Linked DNA regions of Homo sapiens: all the other regions are linked to region 7. The links are contacts of gene promoters, found by promoter capture Hi-C in blood cells and fetal thymus (Javierre and others, 2016). All regions are on one chromosome and are shown on one strand. The core of a region is centred on a gene start or on the middle of the fragment in contact, and the rest is flanking DNA. Distances in the headings are between cores, read along the strand shown.

Region 1 (2,888 bases), core at 172-2,671, 380 kb before region 7:
ATAGGGAGAGAGGGAAAGGATAGAAAAACTGGAAAAGGAGCTCCACGCCAAAGGCACACTTGGCCCCAGTGAACCACCTGGAATACGCTGGGAGCGCTGTAACCACTAAGTAATTCTGAGCAAAAGCTAGGGTGGATTCTGGATATGCCAGGCCGTCTTTTGGAAAAAGAACACACAATTAGGCACGAAGTGGAGTAAGAAAAGAAATCACAATTACTGGAGCCTCGGAAATCCGAGTTTCTTCTGTTTACCAGAACCGCTTGCCCAGCAATGTTTCCAGAGGGCGCCCGGCTTTCCCTCTTTTCCCAGAGCACTCCCCAGCTCTCCCAAGACAAGGGTGGCGTGGTGCCCCGGGGCAAAGACTAAGTCGCTGTACAGCCTCGAGGAGCGAGCTGCTCAGCAAAAGCAAAAGAGAAGGGCTCTCGGGTGGCGGGGACAGACCCTCCTTCGGCATGGGTTGGATCGGACAAGGGGGGCCGTGTGCCGTCAGCTGCCCCACTTCTCTCTGAAGCCCAGTGGGCTCCATCCACTGACCCGCGGCCCGCGCGCCTCCCGGCACCGGCTACATCGCTGGGAGGTGAGGCGCTGGGAGCGCGTGAGGCTCTCCGGGAGAAAACAGCCCAGCTTGCATCCCAGAGGAGGCAGCAGCCGCAGGCACCGTCTATTTCCTCACTCAGTATACAAATTTGACCTCAAAAATACGAACCCTGTCTTTGGCATGTCTGCATTTAGAAATAAACATCATTCCAGACGCCGGCCAGTTCATAGCCACAGAGTCGTAAAGTTTTATTTTTAAAGGGGGGGACGGAAAGGACTTGTAAAGTTTTTTTTTTAAATTTGTTTTTAAATAAAGGAATTAACTTCTGCAAAACAAGCAATCAGCAGCAGAATGCGCGAGGCCACGAGTGCGATCCCCCGAGGCGCGGGGCGCGGCTGGGAAGTTTTGGGGGCGCGCGGCGCGGTGCCGGGACCGGGGAGGAGGCGCGCGGTTCTGGGGGCGCGCAGTGCGGGAGCGCGCGGCCCCGGGGATGGGGAAGGGGCCGGGGACGGGTAGCGCGCGGCCCCTGGGATGGGGAGGGGGCGGGAAGGGGGGAAGAGACGCGGGGCTCTGGGGGCCCGCAGTCTGGGAGCGCGCGGCCCCGGGGATGGGGAGGGGGCCGGGAGGAGGCGTGCGGCTCTGGGGGCGCGCACTGCGGGAGCGCGCGGTGGCGAGGATAGGGCGGGCCGGGGTTCGCGGGGCGAAGGCGCGCGGTGCCCGGGGGAGGGCGGGCCGGGGCGCGCGGGCCGGGGCGGGGGCGCGCGGGCCGGGGCGGGGGCGCGCGGGGCCGGTCGGCGCGCGGGGGCGGCGGGCGCGGCGCTGCCAATCGCAGACAAAGGCCGTCCCAGTGAATCATGTGGTGCCGGGGGAGGAAGTGCGGCTTGTTTTCTTTCCTCCAGTCTCGGGGCTGCAGGCTGAGCGCGATGCGCGGAGACCCCCGCGGGGGCGGCGGCGGCCGTGAGCCCCGATGAGGCCCGAGCGTCCCCGGCCGCGCGGCAGCGCCCCCGGCCCGATGGAGACCCCGCCGTGGGACCCAGCCCGCAACGACTCGCTGCCGCCCACGCTGACCCCGGCCGTGCCCCCCTACGTGAAGCTTGGCCTCACCGTCGTCTACACCGTGTTCTACGCGCTGCTCTTCGTGTTCATCTACGTGCAGCTCTGGCTGGTGCTGCGTTACCGCCACAAGCGGCTCAGCTACCAGAGCGTCTTCCTCTTTCTCTGCCTCTTCTGGGCCTCCCTGCGGACCGTCCTCTTCTCCTTCTACTTCAAAGACTTCGTGGCGGCCAATTCGCTCAGCCCCTTCGTCTTCTGGCTGCTCTACTGCTTCCCTGTGTGCCTGCAGTTTTTCACCCTCACGCTGATGAACTTGTACTTCACGCAGGTGAGTTTCAGAGAGGCTCCTGGAGGCGCTCACCTGGCGGGGTGGTCCCCGCGGGGCGCCCGAGGCAGGGGCGATGGCAGCCGCGGGGGCGGGTCCGGCCCTAGGGCTGAGAGTGTAGGGAGAAGGCGCCGGCTCTGGGGTCGTCCGAACCCTGTCCTGTTTGCGGGCATTTGTCATAGGAAACCCCCTGCCATTCCCAAAAGGGGCAAGGAGAAGGCAGGGGAGGGCTGGAGGCCGCCGCTCACTCGCTGCCCCTGGCTCCGCATCGTGCGGTGGATTCGGGGCGCTTCTCCGTGCGCAGCGCGAAGCAGCAGCGCCTGCACACGCCAGTTAGTACGGATGGAAGGTGTGCCCCCAAGGGAGGCCTGAACTCTAGAATTTGCCCTGCCTCCCCAGGCACCTAACTCCCGGCCTGGAAAGGTCTTCTGCACGTTGGCCTCCAGATTTGGGCCTGACACTGCTGTTTTGAGCGTTGGCAGGGTGAGACCATGTTGGTTTTGATGAGATGTTTTGAACCTCCGGCTTAGGAGCTCTACAGAACTGCGGCTTACTAACTCATTCCACCGGATTGCTAAACAGCAGGCTGGGGTAACACCCAGCTCCGAGCTGCTGCCGCTCATCAGAGTTACTGTCTGAGCTCATCTGAGAGGCCCCAAGAAAAGGCCATAAAAGCTGACTGGGGCTCTTTTACAGCCACACAAAAATCACTTTATGGGGCATATTATTAAATAAGCTAATGGGAGAGTATGTGAATTAACTTGGCTGCTGCTTTACTGCTGATGGTTGACTTAATGAAAGTGCAGTAATTGTTGAGCACTTTGCAAATACTTTGTATAGCGTTGCACAAAGGTTTAATAACGCGGTGCCGCCGTCATCATCGTCATCATCATCTCTGATTCCCATTAGCTTTCCAAGCACTAAGATGTCCATTTTCACTAGGACTCTGCCGAAGGGGAAGGCGTCAACGGT
Region 2 (2,700 bases), core at 201-2,700, 340 kb after region 7:
CTATTGTAATATTCTAATTGAGGAAACTGAGGCTTATTGAATTGCCTAAATTAGTGATAGGAAGCCAGATTGAGTCCATGCACTCTGCTTCTGGAACCTGTGCTGTTAGGCATTTTCATGATGGCTCTGTGGAGGTAAGGCAGTTTTTTAGGTGATTTTTTTTTTCTTTCTTTCTTTTTCTTTTTTTTTTTTTTTTGTCTTTTTTAGGGCATTGAAAAACATATTATTGAGGATACTGAGGAAGCCAGGTTAAACCAAAAAAAATATCCCCGACCTCTCAATATAATTGAAGGACCCCTGATGAATGGAATGAAAATTGTTGGTGATCTTTTTGGAGCTGGAAAAATGTTTCTACCTCAGGTTAGCAAAATATGGGGAGAAATTTTCACAGTTGCATCTTTTCTTTGTCATTTAATAAATGGCGATTTGGGATATATTTCTCAGGTTTTAATTTGGACAAGAGTTCAATGGTATTGGCTAGTCATTCCTTCTCTAAATATGTTTAGGAGTCATGTCTGCAAGAATCCGTCTTCAGAGTGGTGTGGATGTTGGAAATCCGAAAATTCTTAGCATCATAATCTATCATAATCCTTATGTTCTAATTTTTGTATCACCTCTTACCCCCAGTGCCTATCTCTCCCCTCCAAAAGTAAAGTAAAACCCAAGATAAATGTAGAGTTACTAACATTAAGACTTGATTTGACCAGGCACTGTTCATCTGTAAGGATGCATATTTTGAGACAAATGTTACTGTTTTAAATGACGGTACATTAAGTGGTTTGTTTAAAGTAAAACCAGAACTCTTACTTTGATTTACAGCAGCTGCTAACCACATCAGTTAACACATACTTGTTGAGCATGTAGGTTAGTGGCTGTGCGGCATTTGAGAAACTAAAAGGCCTTCATCTTGCCTTAATGTAAGACTGGATTTTAAGTGAGTTTTAAAGCTGGGGATTGAGAAGAGAAGGCTGGGAATGAGCTCATGGTGGAGAAGCTTTGGTCCTGAAGGATACATAGAACTCTTGGATAAAAGATAGAGGGCCTCCTAGACAGAGGAAAAAAAAACAAGCCAAAGTTCAGAAGACAGAAATTGCAACATTTGATTTCCAGCCTTGTTTTCCTTCTGCTGTACCTTATTATTCACTGGCTTTCCCTCTGGGGAGCTTATCCTTTGTTCTGCCTACTGTCAAAAGACTCCAGTGTAGCTGTCCTGAAGTCAAAGCATGCATTCCTAATGTGTGCCCAAATTTCACAAGTGGCCATCAGCAGTTGTTCCTGTGGTTTGGGAAAGATACCTGATCTATGCTTTTTTTCTCAGGTTATAAAGTCAGCCCGGGTTATGAAGAAGGCTGTTGGCCACCTTATCCCTTTCATGGAAAAAGAAAGAGAAGAAACCAGAGTGCTTAACGGCACAGTAGAAGAAGAGGCAAGTCATTTTGTTCAGGCCTATGGGCCTTTAGTGGGTTGACCTGGAAGACTTGAGGTGGTGGTAGGGGCCTAAGCAGTCAGGGTTGGCTGTGTTCGTTATTGAGGATAAAATAGAGAAATGATCCCACATCTCTCCCTTTTTTAACCGAGTATCAGAATACTCTGGGACTTTCTTTTGAATGTAGCTTTATAACATTTTTAATATAGATACAATTTTTCAATCAAAACCCATGTTTTCAAGACAAAGCCAGTTCATTCATTTGTGCCTTCATTACCTGATCATTTACGAAGCTGCTGTGATGTGCCAAGTACTGTGCCAGGCACTGCTCACTCAAAGGTCTGTCCCCGCCCTTGAGGTCATTGAGTCATGCTTGTTTTTAGAAAACTCTTAACTGAATAGTCTTTCTGCTGGTGATGTCCTTGGCACCACTTCTGGATTCAATTTAATTCTTGTTGGCTGCACCACCAGAGTAAATCATTAAGCTTTTTGACCTTGTTTAGCTCCCTGTGAAGCTCAGACAGCTTTGGCCCCTAGGATTCTGAATTTTTAAATTGATCTGTTTGTGAATGGCTCAGACAAACACAGAGTTTATAAAAATCCTTCTTGTTTTGCTTTTTTTCTTTTTTTGGGGCAGTAGTGGGGGATGCTAACTGTGCATAGAACAACAGTGCTGAGGAAAGATACTCACGTGCCCTCTGTCTGGGCTGTTGTGGTTTTTCAGATTCAGATGGGACATACACATACAGTTAACCTGTTCCTTCCCCTCTCCCCTGCCTCTCCCTTAATGGCTAACCGTAAACATTTGTCAAATAAGTTCCCCCGCACCCAGAGTTAAGGATGTGGTCTTCAGCTGTGGTGCTGTTTTGTGTGTGAACATCAACTATTCTTTGAAAGGATGGGACCTCCTGATCTTGGCTGAAGCCCCTTGGGCTAGCCCATTAGGTGGGCCTCCTTTGAACTGTTTGGGCTTCGGTTTCCAGGTCTGTCTTTGAGGTGCTCTTGGTTGTATTGAATTGCTTTCTGTGCTGGCCCCTGCCTGGCTCTGGAGAACTAGGTGTTCCACCCTAAACAACCCTGCCTTGCTGAGCTGCTTGGCTTCCTTTCCAGGACCCTTACCAGGGCACCATCGTGCTGGCCACTGTTAAAGGCGACGTGCACGACATAGGCAAGAACATAGTTGGAGTAGTCCTTGGCTGCAATAATTTCCGGTAAGTTAGGACCTCACCTCTTTCAACCCCTTTTCCATTTAAAAATGAAAGCCTTTTAACAGA
Region 3 (2,894 bases), core at 361-2,860, 280 kb before region 7:
CAAAAACAATAACTTTTAAAATCTTAATTTAAAATAAAAATTCAAATTATGAAGTATAAGTATGGCTTTTGATATGGGCATGGTGGCACATGCCTCTAGTCCCAGTTGCTTGGGAGGCTGAAGTGGGAGGATCACTTGAGCCCAGGAGTCGGAGGCTGCAGTGAACTATGATGGCACCACTACACTCCACCCTGGGCAACAGCCTTTTTTTTTTTTTTTTTAAAAAAAAAAAGAAAGTATGGCTTTTAGGAAAGAAAAAAAATCTTAAAATTCAGTATTTAATTTCTAAGTTGTATAGTTTTAATCTCCATAAGCTGCTCTTGAATAAATTCATCTGCAAAACTGAATTATATATAAGCTTCACAATATAACATTAATTTATGTTCTCTGACACATATATATTATATATTTATAAATAATTTGTGTATGTGTGTGTACATGTAGGACTACATGTGTATAGAATCCTCTACAAACGTGCAAATTGGACTAGTACCAACCTCTTTTCCCAAGAAAACCAACCAAATAACCAATAAAGAAGAAAAACCATGATTCAGATATTAAACCATGATGATTTAAAATATACTTTAAGGGAGCTAAAAAATCACAAGAGGAAAATCAATTATATCAGGTTTTTCATTGTTCTTTTTTAAGAAAAGTGGTCTTACTTTGTTGTGCAGGCTGGACTCGAACTCCTGAGCTCAAGCAAGCCTCCTGCCTCAGCCTCCCAAGTAGCTGGGACTCCAGGTGCTCACCACGACACACAGCTCAATTACATCAGGTTTTATAACTACTTAAGTAAAACTTACATTTTCAATGTTCTTAATGTTTATTCCCTTAGTTTAATCAATACTTTTTAAAAAAATCTTGTAATACTTTTTCAAATCATGAAAAGAGTGGGTTTTGTTAACCTATACAAGGAGTTTGCAAACTACAGCTTGTGTGCCAAATCTGGCCTGCTGCTTATTTTTGTAAATAAAGTTTTCATGGAACACAGCCATGTTCATTTGTTTACATACTGCTTTCACACTATTATGGCAGAGATGAGTAATTCCAACAGAGACCCTATAGTCAGTCTATAAAGCCTAAAATAGTTACCATTAGTCCATTTTCTTAAAAAGCTTACCAACCTCTGCTCTATACTGACAAGAATTTCATGGGACATCCAGAGTGAGCAACGTGTGTGGCAGAAAGCATCTACAGGCCAAGTTCTCTACAAACACACTAGCTGGTAGTGCCCATCCTTATCCCTGGGCCATCTGTGACACTGATTTTCATTTGTTCAACTGAAACTTGTCTCAGTTTGCACAGCTGCGTCATTCATTCAGATAATTCTCTCTAAATTATCTGGCCCTCTACTATGACCCTCTCCCACAAAAGTTTTATCTTCTTTCTGCCTCTACAAAGCAGCTTCATAATTCCTTATTCTTGGAATTCATGAAGTTGAACTAGTGTTATTTCCTCCTCTTCAAGTATATATATATATATATGTGTGTATATATATATGTGTATATATATGTGTATATATATATGTGTATATATGTATATATATATGTGTATATGTGTGTGTGTGTGTATATATATATATATATATATTTTTTTTTTTTGCGATGAGGCTGACTCTGTTGAGCAGTGGGGAGTGCAATGGCATGGTCTCAGCTCAATGCAACCTCTGCCTGTCGGGTTCAAGCAATTCTCCTGCCTCAGCCTCCCATGTAGCTGGGACTACAGACATGTACCACCACGCCTGGCTAGTTTTTGTATTATTAGTAGAGGCAGGGTTTTGCCATGTTGGCCAAGCCAGTCTCAAACTCCTAACTTCAGGTGATTCACCTGCCTCAGCCTCCCAAAGTGCTGGGATTACAGGCATGGGCCACCGTGCCTGGCCTTAAGTATACGATTTTTTTCTAACTGAATTTCCTTTCCACTGTCCTAATTTAATAGAGTTATGAGGTCATACCACATTTTCTAGGATGTTAAACTTTCCTCCCTACTTCCTAACTCATATATCTCTTAAACATTAATGGTAGCATACAGAACAACTTAGTGTGCAAGCTCTTTGCTACGGTCACAGATAAAAAAATACTGTATTATAGACTCAGGATTAAGCTTAAAGCCCTCCATCACCAACCCTACCCCAAACTGCTACTAACTCACTATTAAAACATGATTTACAGTCAAGGAGAAGCTACAGTTTATAAAGCTCTCAAAAAATTTTGATACACAACCAGATTTAGAAACTACTGTTTTAAACATTAAATTTATTAATGAACATATTTTAAGGGAAAAAATAAAACTAAAAATCTATCATGCTATTTAGGCTTTTTATGAACCAACTAGTTCATTCAGCAAGTATTTACTAAGCATCTACCACGTCCAGGCACCATTCTAGGCACTAGGGATACATTAGTGAACCAAAAACAAAGCCCTTGCCCTCAAATAGCTCACAATCTAGCTGGGGAAGACTGACAAGAAACCGATACACTCAATAATATGCCATATACTGTCAGACAGTTGTTAGTGCTTGGGCAGGGTGGGGGCCATCAAAGCAAAGGGACAGGGAGTGATAGTGGCTACTATCTTACACAGCGAGATGAGAGCAGGCTTTTCTGATAAAGTGACATTTGAGGAGAAACATGAACAAGAAGCAAGCCATGATAAAGACAGTAACAACAACAACAAAAAAGAGTGGTAGGGAAAGCAGTTTACCTTAAAGGATATTAAATTACTAAATTATTTTAAAAACTACTATTTGATCTATAGGGATCATCTTCCATTCAAATGAAGTCATTATCAACAGCAAAACAGCAGGAAATGGACATATTCCCTAGTAAACTGGGTGAATATTCTTTATATTTTTGTTTTAATCCACTGAATTTGGGAAACAGCAATAACTA
Region 4 (2,965 bases), core at 73-2,572, 310 kb before region 7:
GAATTGATGACTACCCCTATGAAGGACAATATGCCAATATCTTTCAAAATTATAAATGCACACAGTCTTTGCCCCCAAAATTCTTATCTTTGGGAATTTATTCTACAGGTACAATATTTATATAAATGTGAAATGACATATGTACAAGGTCTGGAAACAACCCAGCTGCCCATTAATAGAGGACGGGTTAATTCAACACTGGCACATTCACATAACAGAATACCAAGTATCTACTTCAAAAAATGAGAAAACTATCTAGTCATATGTGAAGACTGCCAAGAAATACTAGGTGAAAAAAATGAAGTCGTATGTATATGATGTCAATTTTTGAGTAAAAATGAGAGAAAAAATAAGACTTTCCATTTGTATATGTTTGTACCTGTCTACAACAGTGTGAATGGAAACCTAAGAAACCAAGAGCACAGGCTATTCATGGTGGGAGATGAGTGTGCAGTGGAGGAAGCTGGGCCAAGGACACAGGAACACATTCACTGAATAACTTTTTATATTGTTTGTTTCTTTTAACCATGTGAATGTATTACCTATTCAAAAAATTAAATAAGATAAGCATATTTTATAAGCTTTATGATTCAATACAAATCAAACAATGCTTTTAATTGTTCCCACTTTGTAGCTGAATGGAAATAGGCCAACTTACAAAATGTCACAAAGGTTCTAGAATCAGTCTTTCTCGTCTCAAATTCTTGCTCCACAACCTAGAATTTGTGACTATGGACAGGTTACTTAGCCTTTTTTATCCTCAGTCTTCTTACTTATAAAACAGAGAAGTAATTGTACCTACCTACTAGTGCTATTGTGAAGATTAACGGTGTATTCTTTTAAAGCCAAACTATGCATGTAAAAGCCCTTAATACAATGCCAGCCAATGCTTGCCATTATGATAAGAAACAACCTCAGACTACTTATAAATACATTTTCTCCCTTCTCCACAGGTTACAATCAAATTCTCATGCCATAAAAAGAAACACTTAAAATAGCGGGGAAAAACAAGACAGAAAAGATTGCAGAAACATGTACTTTAATTCACATTTTCTAGATTCTGGTGGGTACAACAGTAAATTATTTGGAATTCTGTTCAAAATCAAAGCTGCACCTGTAGATATTCCTTAAAATACAGTACACATAGATTTGTGTGTGTGTTTTTTTACCAAATAATTTCCACGATACCATGCACCTAATCTGTGTATTTTGGTGAGTAGCTATGGTTTCTGCAGGTACCTCAGTTTGCAAACTACTGAGAGGTTTACTGTGAACTGTTCCCAAATTTTCAGCTGAAGGCAATGCTGATGAAGATCAAAATAGCTGTCCTTTCTTATATACAGTGGCACATAGGCAAAGTTGAAAAACATGGCAGAGTTTCATATACATACAGAGATTACAAATATCGAATAATTCACAATGTTAAAAATGTCAAAATAAAACGTTTTGACTTATCAAATTTCAAAAGTGTGGAGTCTTATTCTGTCTGATCCTCCTCATAATCTAAGAATCAAAACAGGAGAAACATTCAAAGTTTACCAATTTTAATATATAGTTTGTCTAACTTACATAGATGCCACTTAAGTAAAAAATAAACTTACGCCATTGAAGGAAGGAATATTTTCCTTTTCTTCATTTTCATTACTTCATCAGTGGGTACAATCATTTCTGTCAGTTATATTATCAAGTGCTGGGTTTTTAAATTAGGTGATGAGATAAAGACAAAATGCCAGAGCACCAGCAAAGCATTTTTACAATGCAAACAGTACTCTAGTATAATATCACTTCACGACAAAAGATGTGAATTGGAAAAACAGTTTAGATCACAAGAACCATAAAATGTCACCAGGCTCACACAATCATTTAAGAAATAAAAACACATACACAAAAATGTAGGCTGCCCCTACAATCTAATTTATGATAAAATAAGATGAATTTCAGCCTAAGAATACTTCATTTATTTTCTTAGTTGTGAAAAAATTAGTTAAGAACCTTAAAAAGAACTTTTTACTCTAACCAGATCTTTTAATTTCCTAGAACATACTCTAATATACTAGTTTTCCTAAGCTTGAAACAAATCACAGTACAGAAAAAAACAATAAATGGACATGAGCGAGGATTTTCTCCAGTAAACAGTTTAAATAATAGCCTTTAACTGAGGGAGTGGTGAAATAACACTATCAAAAAGTTCTTTACATTTAGAGTGATAAACAAAGTGCAGATTTTTCACATCTTAAACTCTGAGTGAATACTAAGAATAATTCTTACTAATTTACTAGTTAAATTAATTGGATAGTCACTTTTTAGACAGTTTGCCTTAAGGCCCCCCTCCCCCACCATACAATACTTGCAACCCTCAAGAAAAAGTAGAGGAGGCTCCAATCAAGTCAGCCTTTTAAACAACTTAACAAAAAATACTACCACCATCAACAACAAAACCCCAAGTTTATAAAGGTTTGAAATTAGGTGAGAAAATAAATAACTCTGAGACCTTAATACCCCCACCACATCCCACCAAGAGATGGCTAAGTATTTTTAAGAGGGGTGAGCCAAGCCAACTAAATACAATTTTTTAGATGTCACCAAATCATCAATGAACACATTTCAGACTTTGACAGGATAAAATATGGATTTAAGAGCACTTATTCTTTAATTCAGAAAAGACTAAAGAGTCTAAGGAAAAACTCTAGATCTTGTACCTGCATTACTTCTACACAGATGCAATCTTCCAAATTGTATCTGCTGACATTTAAAAAAAATCAAGATTTTAAATATTGTCTAAAGATTTTAAATCCCAGATTTAGAAAATGACAGTTTAGGACTGTTGGTATGAATCACAGAAAGTCCTCTGTTGGTATGAATCACAGAAAGTACCGTTTATATACAGTGAAAAGAAAAGGTGAGGGGAGAGTAAGCTTAAAGGAGGGTTGACCTAATCTACCTTTTTATATATCCTGTCAGGGAA
Region 5 (2,700 bases), core at 139-2,638, 480 kb before region 7:
ACAAGAGGGGTAAACTTTCAGAGAAGATAATGATCCCATTCATAATTGACTGTTACGAGTGAAGAGAAAAGCAAAGTTTAAACCCAGGTAGACTCTATGAGTCCTACATACTCGGAAGGGAATTTCTGGCTTTATAAAGACAGCGTTTGGAGCCGAGCACACTTGAGCCCTGAACTGAACACGTGATGCCGCTGATTACTTAAACTCCAGCTGTGGGCAGAGCTCTCAGGGGTCATTATGGCCTGTGTACATGTGAACTATTCAAATAACACCAGGAATGCACTACTGGCCACAGAAGACTGACCTTTCTCTTCAACATAGGGAAATAACTGGGGTAGAGGGACAGGAAAACATCTGTTTTAGACACAATCTGCGTTCAAATCTAGGCTTTTTTCAGTCTTAAGTAATACACTGCCCCAAGTTGTTGGGCTGGATATGGTCTCATTCAAATGTGATGGCTTCACAAATGAGAATTTCAGAGACACCTAGAAAGGGTGGAGACAGGATGGAACTCAAAACCCAACATATGCAAGGAAACACACCCAACACATCTGGGGGAGATGACTCCAAAACCCACGGCAGAGTGGCATGTGCTGAGCAATGTAAGCATCACCCCAGGAACCCAGGGTGCAGTAGGAGAACCTAAGACATGAGCCCCTGTCCTTGTCCTGCCACCAAATGGCAGCTTCTCCATTTCCGTGCCTCAGAAGTAAGTCAGCACGCCAGCCAGTAAGCACCCCATCTCGTCCACAGTTTGGGATACTCGTGAGAACAAGCGTGTATGGCTACTGCTGTGAGATAAATCAGAACAAGTAAGGGCAAATAAAAATGAGTGAACAGTGTGGAATGGGCCAGACTTCTCTAAGAGTTTTATGATCATTCCTTAGTAGAAAAGCAGCAGACAGCTGCAATAAGCTTATCTAAAGGCTTGGACTATCCCATTTATATGAGTCTTAGTGGATTCCGTATCAAACTAATGTGAAAAAAAAATAATGAGGACAGTTTAGTTGGAACATCTTTTTTTTTTTTTTTCTTGAGACAGAGTCTTGCTCTTGCCAACCAGGCTGGAGGGCAATGGAGCGATCTCGGCTCACTGCAACCTCCACCTCTCAGGTTCGAGCGATTCTCTGGCCTCAGCCTCCAGATTGGCTGGGATTACAGATGCCTGCCACCACGCCTGGCTAATGTTTTGCATTTTTAGTAGAGGCAGGATTTCACCATGTTGTCCAGGCTGGTCTCCAACTCCTGACCTCAGGTGATGCACCCGCCTTGGCCTCCCAAAGTGCTGGGATAACAGGCATGAGCCACTGTGCCTGGCTAGAACATCTTTTATAAGAAAAATGAAAGCATCCAGGAGTTCTATTTTCCCTCAAAATGTAGCAAAAATCTGATATAACATAGTTGACCAGAAAATGTACTGTAAAACTTTTTTTTTCTTTTCGAGGCAGAGACTCACTCTGTTGCCAGGCTGGAGTGCAGTGGCATGATCTCGGCTCACTGCAACCTCTGCCTCCCAGGTTCAAGCAATCCTCCTGCCTCAGCCTCCCAAGTAGCTAGGACTACAGGCGTGTGTCACCACGCCCAGCTAATTTTTGTATTTTTAGTAGAGATGGGGTTTCACCATGTTGGCCAGGATGGTCTCAATCTCTTGAGCTTGTGATCCACCTGCCTCGGCCTCCCAAAGTGCTGGGATTACAGGTGTGAGCCACCACCCCCGACCCTATTTTTTTTTAAAGAGTATCTACTTTGATATATATATATTTTTTAATCTTCACAAACCAACTCTGAAACTGACGGGACCTGGGAAGAAAAATAATCAACAATTCTAATTCCAAAACCAAGAGGAAATAAATGTCAAAGATAAGCTTCATAGACAGCCAAAAGAACTTCTAAAATGTTTTTTCAGGTGGATGAATACATTTCTGATCTGAGAAATCACAAGAAAATCTGACTTTCAAAACAATTCTAACGGACGTTTTCTCTTTAAAACAGACAGAACGGAATACTAGGAAACTTGAAAGAAGACACACTCAACAGTCTCCAAAACCATGGTCCTAATCCCAAAAGATCACTGAGCATCTCTGAAGCCACTGGGCATATAACACCAAGGCTCCACGGCTGTGAGAGTTCAGCCTCTACTTTCCCAAGCTCTTATCTTTACAAACCACCATGTAATGCTCACAACTGACATCTCCCCAGCAGTACGCCTGTCTGGAAGCCCACACATCCAAGATCGTTACCAACTGCAACTTAAATGGTCTTACCAACTCCTGTTTCCTCAACTTCATCCACATCTATGACCTGAGGGTGCTGCTGGTGAAAAGTCTCCACTGCCAACTGGAAAGACCTGGTTCTCTCTGTGGGAGGTCCAAGGGGCCTTTCGGTAGCTGCCCGGCGCGGGGAGAGGACGCTGGGCACACTGTATGTGTCAGCACCTCCCCTTCTCAGAGCCTTGTAGGAGAAGGGCGTGGTGCCCACATCCTCCAGGCCCAGACGAGTGGTCGCCAGGTCATAATCTTCATCCTCATCATCATACTCTGCCCCATCTTCAGTTCCGAGGATCACGTCTGCAGGCACCACGCCATTGGTGGTGGCTGGACTCCCAATCTCAAACACCCAGACACCCTGCTGCCCAGAGTTACTACTCCTAGGAGGAAGGACAGGCTTCTTAGAAACAGGCCAGCAACCCACCAACAGCCA
Region 6 (2,855 bases), core at 193-2,692, 400 kb before region 7:
GCTGTGGGCCACAGGCATTTCGTTCTCCAAAATCCTACATTCATCTTACTTCATTTAATGTTTGCAGCCACATAAGAAGTAGAAAACATAACTTGATTTCCAGATTAGAAGACTGAAGTTTGGACAGAAAAAATAACTTGCCCAGTGTCACCCAGCGGGCACACGGAGGAGCTGGGATTCAACATCAATGACTCCAGGACCATGGTCTGTCTCCACGAGACTAGTCTACCCACCTCGATTCTCTGCCTGGTAGGCCTTCCCCACTTTTCCACCTGCTAAATCAATCACACCTGGTTGCATCTCTCCTTCTTTCCTCCCCTAACCCAAGACTCTTTTTTGTTGTTGTTGTTTTGGAGATGGAGTTTGCTGTTGTTGCCCAGGCTGGAGTGCAGCGGCACGACCTCGGCTCACCACAGCCTCTGCCTCCCGGGTTCAAGCGATTCTCCTGCCTCAGCCTCCCGAGTAGCTGGGATTACAGGCACGCGCCACCATGCCCAGCTAATTTTTGTATTATTAGTAGAGATGGGGTTTCACCATGTTGCCCAGGGTGGTCTTGAACTCCTGACCTCAGGTGATCCACCCGCCTCAGCCTCCCAAAATGCTGGGATTACAGGCGTGAGCCACCATGCCCGGCCATATCCCATGACTCTCTAAAGCACTCTGTGGTTGTTTCTGGGTTATTTTCACTTCTCCAATTAGGAGGTAAGTTTTTTGGGGTCAAAGAGCATGTTTTCGACTTTGTTTTCATCCTATCCCAAATTGCCTGGTACCAAGCTTGGTAGCTGATGAGCCAACAGGGAACCCACGAATGACATTGTATTAGAAGACCACAGGCTTTGGGCTCAAGGAATGACCCTTCCCTTTTACAGTCCTGTCCACACCTCAACAGCCCTCTCGTAGCTCGGTGGATCTCAGCTGAATGTCAATGAGCCAGAGCTTCCCCTGACCACCCAAGCCCAAGTGTTGTCCCTGGCTATTCCTCCTCGTAGCATCTCTTTTTCCTCTTCATCGGACTTACTACAACGTGTACTCATAGGCTCATTTGAGTATCTACCTTATTTTCTCCACTAAAATGTGAACCCCAAGAGGCCAGGGACCATGGGCATTTTGACTCAAAACATATTCTTTGAATGACTTTAACAGAAACTTCCATCAACTTCTCAAAGGGCCAACCACATACGCAGTGAAGAGGGTTTCAAATGATGAATCAGGGACTTTTCCCTGTGTTCAGGCGTGAACCCCGACTCACCATGGGGTCGTATCCACATGCTCTCTCTTGACCTCAGTTCTTTACTTGCAAAGTAAGGATCATGGTTCTAGTCCCATTTACTCTCATAGGCTCTTGCCTGGAGAAAGTGAAATCATTTTAGCCTTGCTGTGTTGTTAAAGCCAAGGCCTAATGCCAACGTGACTAGTTATAAGCCCCTTGAGGAGGGGCTCATGTCTGACAAACACTCTGTCTCTCTGTCCCTCTCAACATAATTTTTGTGAACAGGCCAAGTAGATAAACAACTCAAAAAAATAAAAATATACAAAATGCATACAGTGACAACGTTCCCTTGCTCCTCTGTCCACACCTCCCCAGGTCCCACCCTTAACCATTACTATTGGTTTTATTCATAGCATTCCAGAGTTTATTTTTTTTTTTTATTTTATTTTACTTTATTTTCTGAGATGGAGTCTTGCTCTGTTGCCCAGGCTGGAGTGCAGTGGCCCTATCTCGGCTCACTGCAAACTCTGCCTCCCGGATTCCAGCAATTCTCCTGCCTAAGCCTGTCGAGTAGCTGGGACTACAGGCGCCCGCCACTATGCCTGGCTAATTTTTGTATTTTTAGTAGAGACGGGGTTTTGCCACGTTAGCCAGACTGGTCTCGAACTCCTGACCTTGGGTGATCCACCCGCCTCGGCCTCCCAAACTGCTGGGATTACAGACGTGAGCCACTGCGCCTGGCTGCCATTTTAAAATATACAATTAAACCATTATGGACCACAGTCCTCAGTGTGTGATCAAATACTCAGTATTATTCACTCTTTCTATTTTCCAGAGTTTCTATATCTGCCTACAAGTAACCATGAAAGCACTTCCCCTACAGGATCATGTCTTACCCTTGCAAGCTTTCCAACTGTCTTGCTCCATGCCCAACACCAGGTAAATCTTTAGTAAATTCAGTACATTTAGTAAATCTGTTGGTGGATTTGATTAACTAATGATCTTGAAACCAACACATTGGACAAGCAACAAGGTGAGTTTGCAATGTGTGTTACAGACGGATGAAAGCACACGCTGAACAGGGCCTACTCCAGTGAACCATCATCTGCCTGCATCTTTCCTGTTCCAGTCCAAGACCAATCCGGATACTTGGGCCTTGTTTTGTTTTGCTCTTCCTGGGAAGTGTCAGTTCATTGGTCGTTACAAGGATAATAGGAGTTACTTCCTGACTGCATGAAAAGTACATAGAACAGAGCCTGGCACAGAGAGAGAAGCCAATGAGCAGCAGGAATGATGATCACAGGCAATCTTCCCTTCCGCCACCACTCACCTCAGATGACCTGGTGAGCCTTGTGTCACAGGCTGGGTACTTCCCCCGGAATTCACATGTTGAAGCTCTAACCCGCAGTACCCAGAATGTGACTGTATTTGGAGAGAGGGCCTTCTCTCCAAATAGAAGGAGGTAATTAAGGTAAAATGAGGCCATTAGTGTGGGTCCTAATCGGATATGACTGGTCCTGATGAGAAGTGGAGATTAGGATACTGACACACACAGAGGGAAGCCCATGTGAGGACCCAGGGGAGGGAGGCTGTCTGTGACCAAGGAGAGTGGCATCAGGAGAAACCAGCCCTGCCAACGCCTTGG
Region 7 (2,886 bases), core at 46-2,545:
CAAGTTCCTTTTCTCAAACTACAGTCGAGTTGGATAGATAAAACACACAACACATACCAAAAGACAGCTATAAATCCAAGGCAGTGTATGTCAAGGGTAAATTCACCTATTCAGATTGGATCTTGAGAAGTGCATCAGGCTTGGAAAATGGGTAAGGAGGAGAGAAAAGCAACAGTGAATCAGAACATGAGTTCCCAGTTATGGGACTTGTAATGAATTCCTCAATTAAAACAAAAAATAATGAAAACAAAAGCCAGGGAGGAGAAAGCCCACGTTAATGACACTAAAATATATCTTTCCAAACAAATGTGGATAAAAGCCAAGTAGAGAAGATGAGAACTTTGAGGTCCCTAACAGAAAATAAACAGTAAGCAGCCAGCCATTCCAAGTGGCTGACATGACTTTGTTTAACTTTATTTGTATTTCTGGCTGGTGTGTTTACAGCCAATAGGTCAAACTATCAGTCAGTGTAGGGCCCTGAGAAGTCGGGTATTTAAGAGCATCTAATAGGCACAGAATTGTGCTCCATACTGCTTAAACTGTTCCCTAAGTGTCCAATTTGGAGAAAACACCCACACGCAGGATAACTGGCGAGTGACGCGGAGTGGCTGCGAGTCCAAGTTATCACTAACGGATGGGGAGCTTGGGCTGGGCACAGTCCAGCGTACTGAACCCTTCCCCCACCGTTTCACCTGCATACAGAGGTGTGTACTGTCAAAAAGCAGCGCCTCCAAGTCTCTTCTGGCACTGTCTGGACTTGGATCCGAGGCAGACGAGGAAGCTGAGAAAACCCTGGCGTTGACCCCGTGGACCTGGGCGCCCCGGGAAGGCCAGCGCTTGGTCCAGGCAGGCGGGGCCTGTGCGGTGACCACCCTGGTCCTGAAAAGTCCCAGCCCCGAGCGCCCTCCCTCCTAGACCTGGAGGCCTGGAACAGCCAGGTGGACGTCGGCCCACCTTTCTTTTCTTTCCTTCCCATTTTCCTACCACCTCCCACCCCACTCCGCCTTCCGGGCAAAGGCAGCCAGATCCACCCAGGACACATTCTTTGTCCTTATCCCTCTGTGCTCGTCCCACAGCAAGCCAGTCGCGGTCCAAGGCTCCAGAGGCTGTGCAGGAGGCCGAGCTGGGTGGCGATCAGCGGCGGGTCCCTGTCCAAAACCCAGCAGAGCCGCCAGGGACGCCCCAGACACAGAAGGCGGGGCGCGGGGAGGGTGGGGAGACCACAGCAGTGAGGCGCGCGAGCCGGGAAGTGAACGAGGACTGACTCCTGTCGCTTCCCGTAGCCGCCCACGGACGCCAGAGCCGGGAACCCTGACGGCACTTAGCTGCTGACAAACAACCTGCTCCGTGGAGCGCCTGAAACACCAGTCTTTGGGTGAGTCGCGCGACCCCCGGCCTCGGGTGGCGGGGCAGTCGCTAGAGGCGTGGCTGCTCTGAGGGTCTCGCCAGTGGAGGATGGCATTCGGATGTCACGGCTCCTAAATCACCATTTGATGGGTGGGACAGTGTCCAGTCCACCCCGACCCGCCGGTCCTCACCGCGGCAGAGCCGGGGCTGGGTGGCGGGGACGCTGCCTCTGCAGGCGAGGCGCTCCGGGGCATAAGGGATTATCAGGAGTCGCGGCCTTTCTTGGACATCCCTGGCTGGGGTCAGGCTGTTTGCCCTGGGGTGTCTCCTCGCTGCAAACCCACCCCACCTGGGCTGCTTTCTCACCTGTTCCCTCCTAGCCTGAGGCCGAGCGCCACCTCCAAGTGGAGGAATCTGGGGAAGTTTCCTTCCCGGAATTTGTAGTGACAGTGGAGTGACCTCCATTGCGTTCCCTGCCTCTAACACGCTCTTTAGGATGCCGAGTCATTTGACTGCAGTGTTAAACATTGCAAAGCGCAAGTCATGTGACTTCCTTTGACCGTACGTGAAACTTAAGTGATGGCTGCTTGTGATGCATACGAAGTGTTCATGCTGGCGGGACCTGTCCCTGGGGATACTTCGGGGGTTGCGTGATTTAATGCAAGCAGATGGCTTAAATTGGGTCACTGGCTTGTTATTATACATGTGTATGGCAACTCGGCATCCATTCTTTTTGCTCTTGTTCTTACTTCCTGAATTGAGTCACGGAGCCAGAGTTTTGAGGTTTTGACTAACGAATTAAGTTAATGACATGGGGCTATATTTAGGTGGTAAACCAAGAGGGATACAGTTTTTTTTCTTAATAAAGAAAAAGTGATAGATTTGATCGGTGTGTATTGTTGGTGTGCAGTATAATGACAGAATTGCTGGAAGTAAAATACAGGAAGCTCTGGTTTCATTTCCCCTTTAGTTCTGCTTAAAGTCGAGTTTTTCCTGGAGCTATTAAATGTAGTGTAGTGTCCATGAGTGCTTTTATCTTAAAAAATGTGGCTGATGCTTTCCAACACTCCCCTGCCCTGTGATTATTATTTTTTTAAGCAACAGAGAAAACCGTATCTTAATAGTATTAAAAGTATTGGATTTTTCCCTACTTTGATTTGTTTAAATTGGAGGAGGAAGAGCAATTCTTTCTATTCACAATAATAATAGCTAACATAGCGCTTACTCTTTCGCTGTTTTATTAACTCAATCCTCAGAACAAACCAATGATGTGAATACTGTAATTCTCATTTTATGGAAATGAAAATCTAAATGAATACCTCTGGTAATTGTACGGGACTGTTTGATTAGTATTTACCATTAATTAATTAAATTTTTTTTTTTTTTTGAGATGGAGTCTCGTTCTGTTGCCCAGGCTGGAGTGCAGTGGCACAATCTCGGCTCACTTCAACCTCCGTCTCCCAGGTTCAAGCAATTCTCCTGTCTCAGCCTCCTGAGTAGCTGGGACTACAGGTGCATGCCACTACGTCTGGCTAATTT

Evidence for each region. The method cuts DNA at HindIII sites, captures the fragments that hold promoters and counts their contacts. A CHiCAGO score of 5 or more calls a contact.
Region 1: the fragment with the promoter of GPR137B here is called in contact with the fragment with the promoter of LGALS8 in region 7 in 16 of 17 cell types (M1 macrophages, M2 macrophages, M0 macrophages and 13 more); the score reaches 17.1 in M1 macrophages.
Region 2: a fragment that was not itself captured here is called in contact with the fragment with the promoter of LGALS8 in region 7 in 1 of 17 cell types (naive CD4 T cells); the score reaches 5.7 in naive CD4 T cells.
Region 3: a fragment that was not itself captured here is called in contact with the fragment with the promoter of LGALS8 in region 7 in 1 of 17 cell types (naive CD4 T cells); the score reaches 5.1 in naive CD4 T cells.
Region 4: a fragment that was not itself captured here is called in contact with the fragment with the promoter of LGALS8 in region 7 in 1 of 17 cell types (M0 macrophages); the score reaches 5.5 in M0 macrophages.
Region 5: a contact is called between a fragment that was not itself captured here and the fragment with the promoter of LGALS8 in region 7, in 1 of 17 cell types (M2 macrophages). The highest score is 5.4, in M2 macrophages.
Region 6: a contact is called between a fragment that was not itself captured here and the fragment with the promoter of LGALS8 in region 7, in 15 of 17 cell types (M0 macrophages, endothelial precursors, M1 macrophages and 12 more). The highest score is 13.8, in M0 macrophages.

The regions. Positions count from the first base shown.
Region 1 is chr1:236,141,118-236,144,005 of GRCh38, forward strand. GPR137B (G protein-coupled receptor 137B) reads left to right here and starts at 1,422. Exons shown (of 7, transcript NM_003272.4): 1 at 1,422-1,919. The coding sequence starts at 1,506. RefSeq lists silencers at 1,161-1,340, 1,411-1,680 and an enhancer at 1,646-2,149. The HindIII fragment of the contact is 3,564 bases long and covers 1-1,629 here.
Region 2 is chr1:236,860,918-236,863,617 of GRCh38, forward strand. MTR (5-methyltetrahydrofolate-homocysteine methyltransferase) reads left to right here. Exons shown (of 33, transcript NM_000254.3): 20 at 208-360; 21 at 1,319-1,426; 22 at 2,537-2,637. Among named protein-coding and RNA genes, the nearest start is that of MTR, 67 kb to the left of the region's middle. The HindIII fragment of the contact is 917 bases long and covers 993-1,909 here.
Region 3 is chr1:236,238,320-236,241,213 of GRCh38, forward strand. All of the region lies in intron 6 of ERO1B (endoplasmic reticulum oxidoreductase 1 beta), which reads right to left. LOC124904561 (a long non-coding RNA gene) reads left to right here. Exons shown (of 2, transcript XR_007066961.1): 2 at 678-993. Among named protein-coding and RNA genes, the nearest start is that of ERO1B, 42 kb to the right of the region's middle. The HindIII fragment of the contact is 988 bases long and covers 1,117-2,104 here.
Region 4 is chr1:236,214,533-236,217,497 of GRCh38, forward strand. ERO1B (endoplasmic reticulum oxidoreductase 1 beta) reads right to left here. Exons shown (of 16, transcript NM_019891.4): 16 at 569-2,965. Among named protein-coding and RNA genes, the nearest start is that of ERO1B, 66 kb to the right of the region's middle. The HindIII fragment of the contact is 1,486 bases long and covers 580-2,065 here.
Region 5 is chr1:236,039,646-236,042,345 of GRCh38, forward strand. NID1 (nidogen 1) reads right to left here. Exons shown (of 20, transcript NM_002508.3): 4 at 2,265-2,647. Among named protein-coding and RNA genes, the nearest start is that of NID1, 24 kb to the right of the region's middle. The HindIII fragment of the contact is 950 bases long and covers 914-1,863 here.
Region 6 is chr1:236,121,218-236,124,072 of GRCh38, forward strand. No RefSeq gene overlaps it. Among named protein-coding and RNA genes, the nearest start is that of GPR137B, 20 kb to the right of the region's middle. The HindIII fragment of the contact is 1,341 bases long and covers 773-2,113 here.
Region 7 is chr1:236,522,687-236,525,572 of GRCh38, forward strand. LGALS8 (galectin 8) reads left to right here and starts at 1,296. Exons shown (of 10, transcript NM_201544.4): 1 at 1,296-1,375. It overlaps LGALS8-AS1 (LGALS8 antisense RNA 1), which reads right to left and starts at 1,822. Exons shown (of 1, transcript NR_034040.1): 1 at 383-1,822. RefSeq lists a silencer at 1,589-1,638. The HindIII fragment of the contact is 5,952 bases long and covers 1-2,886 here.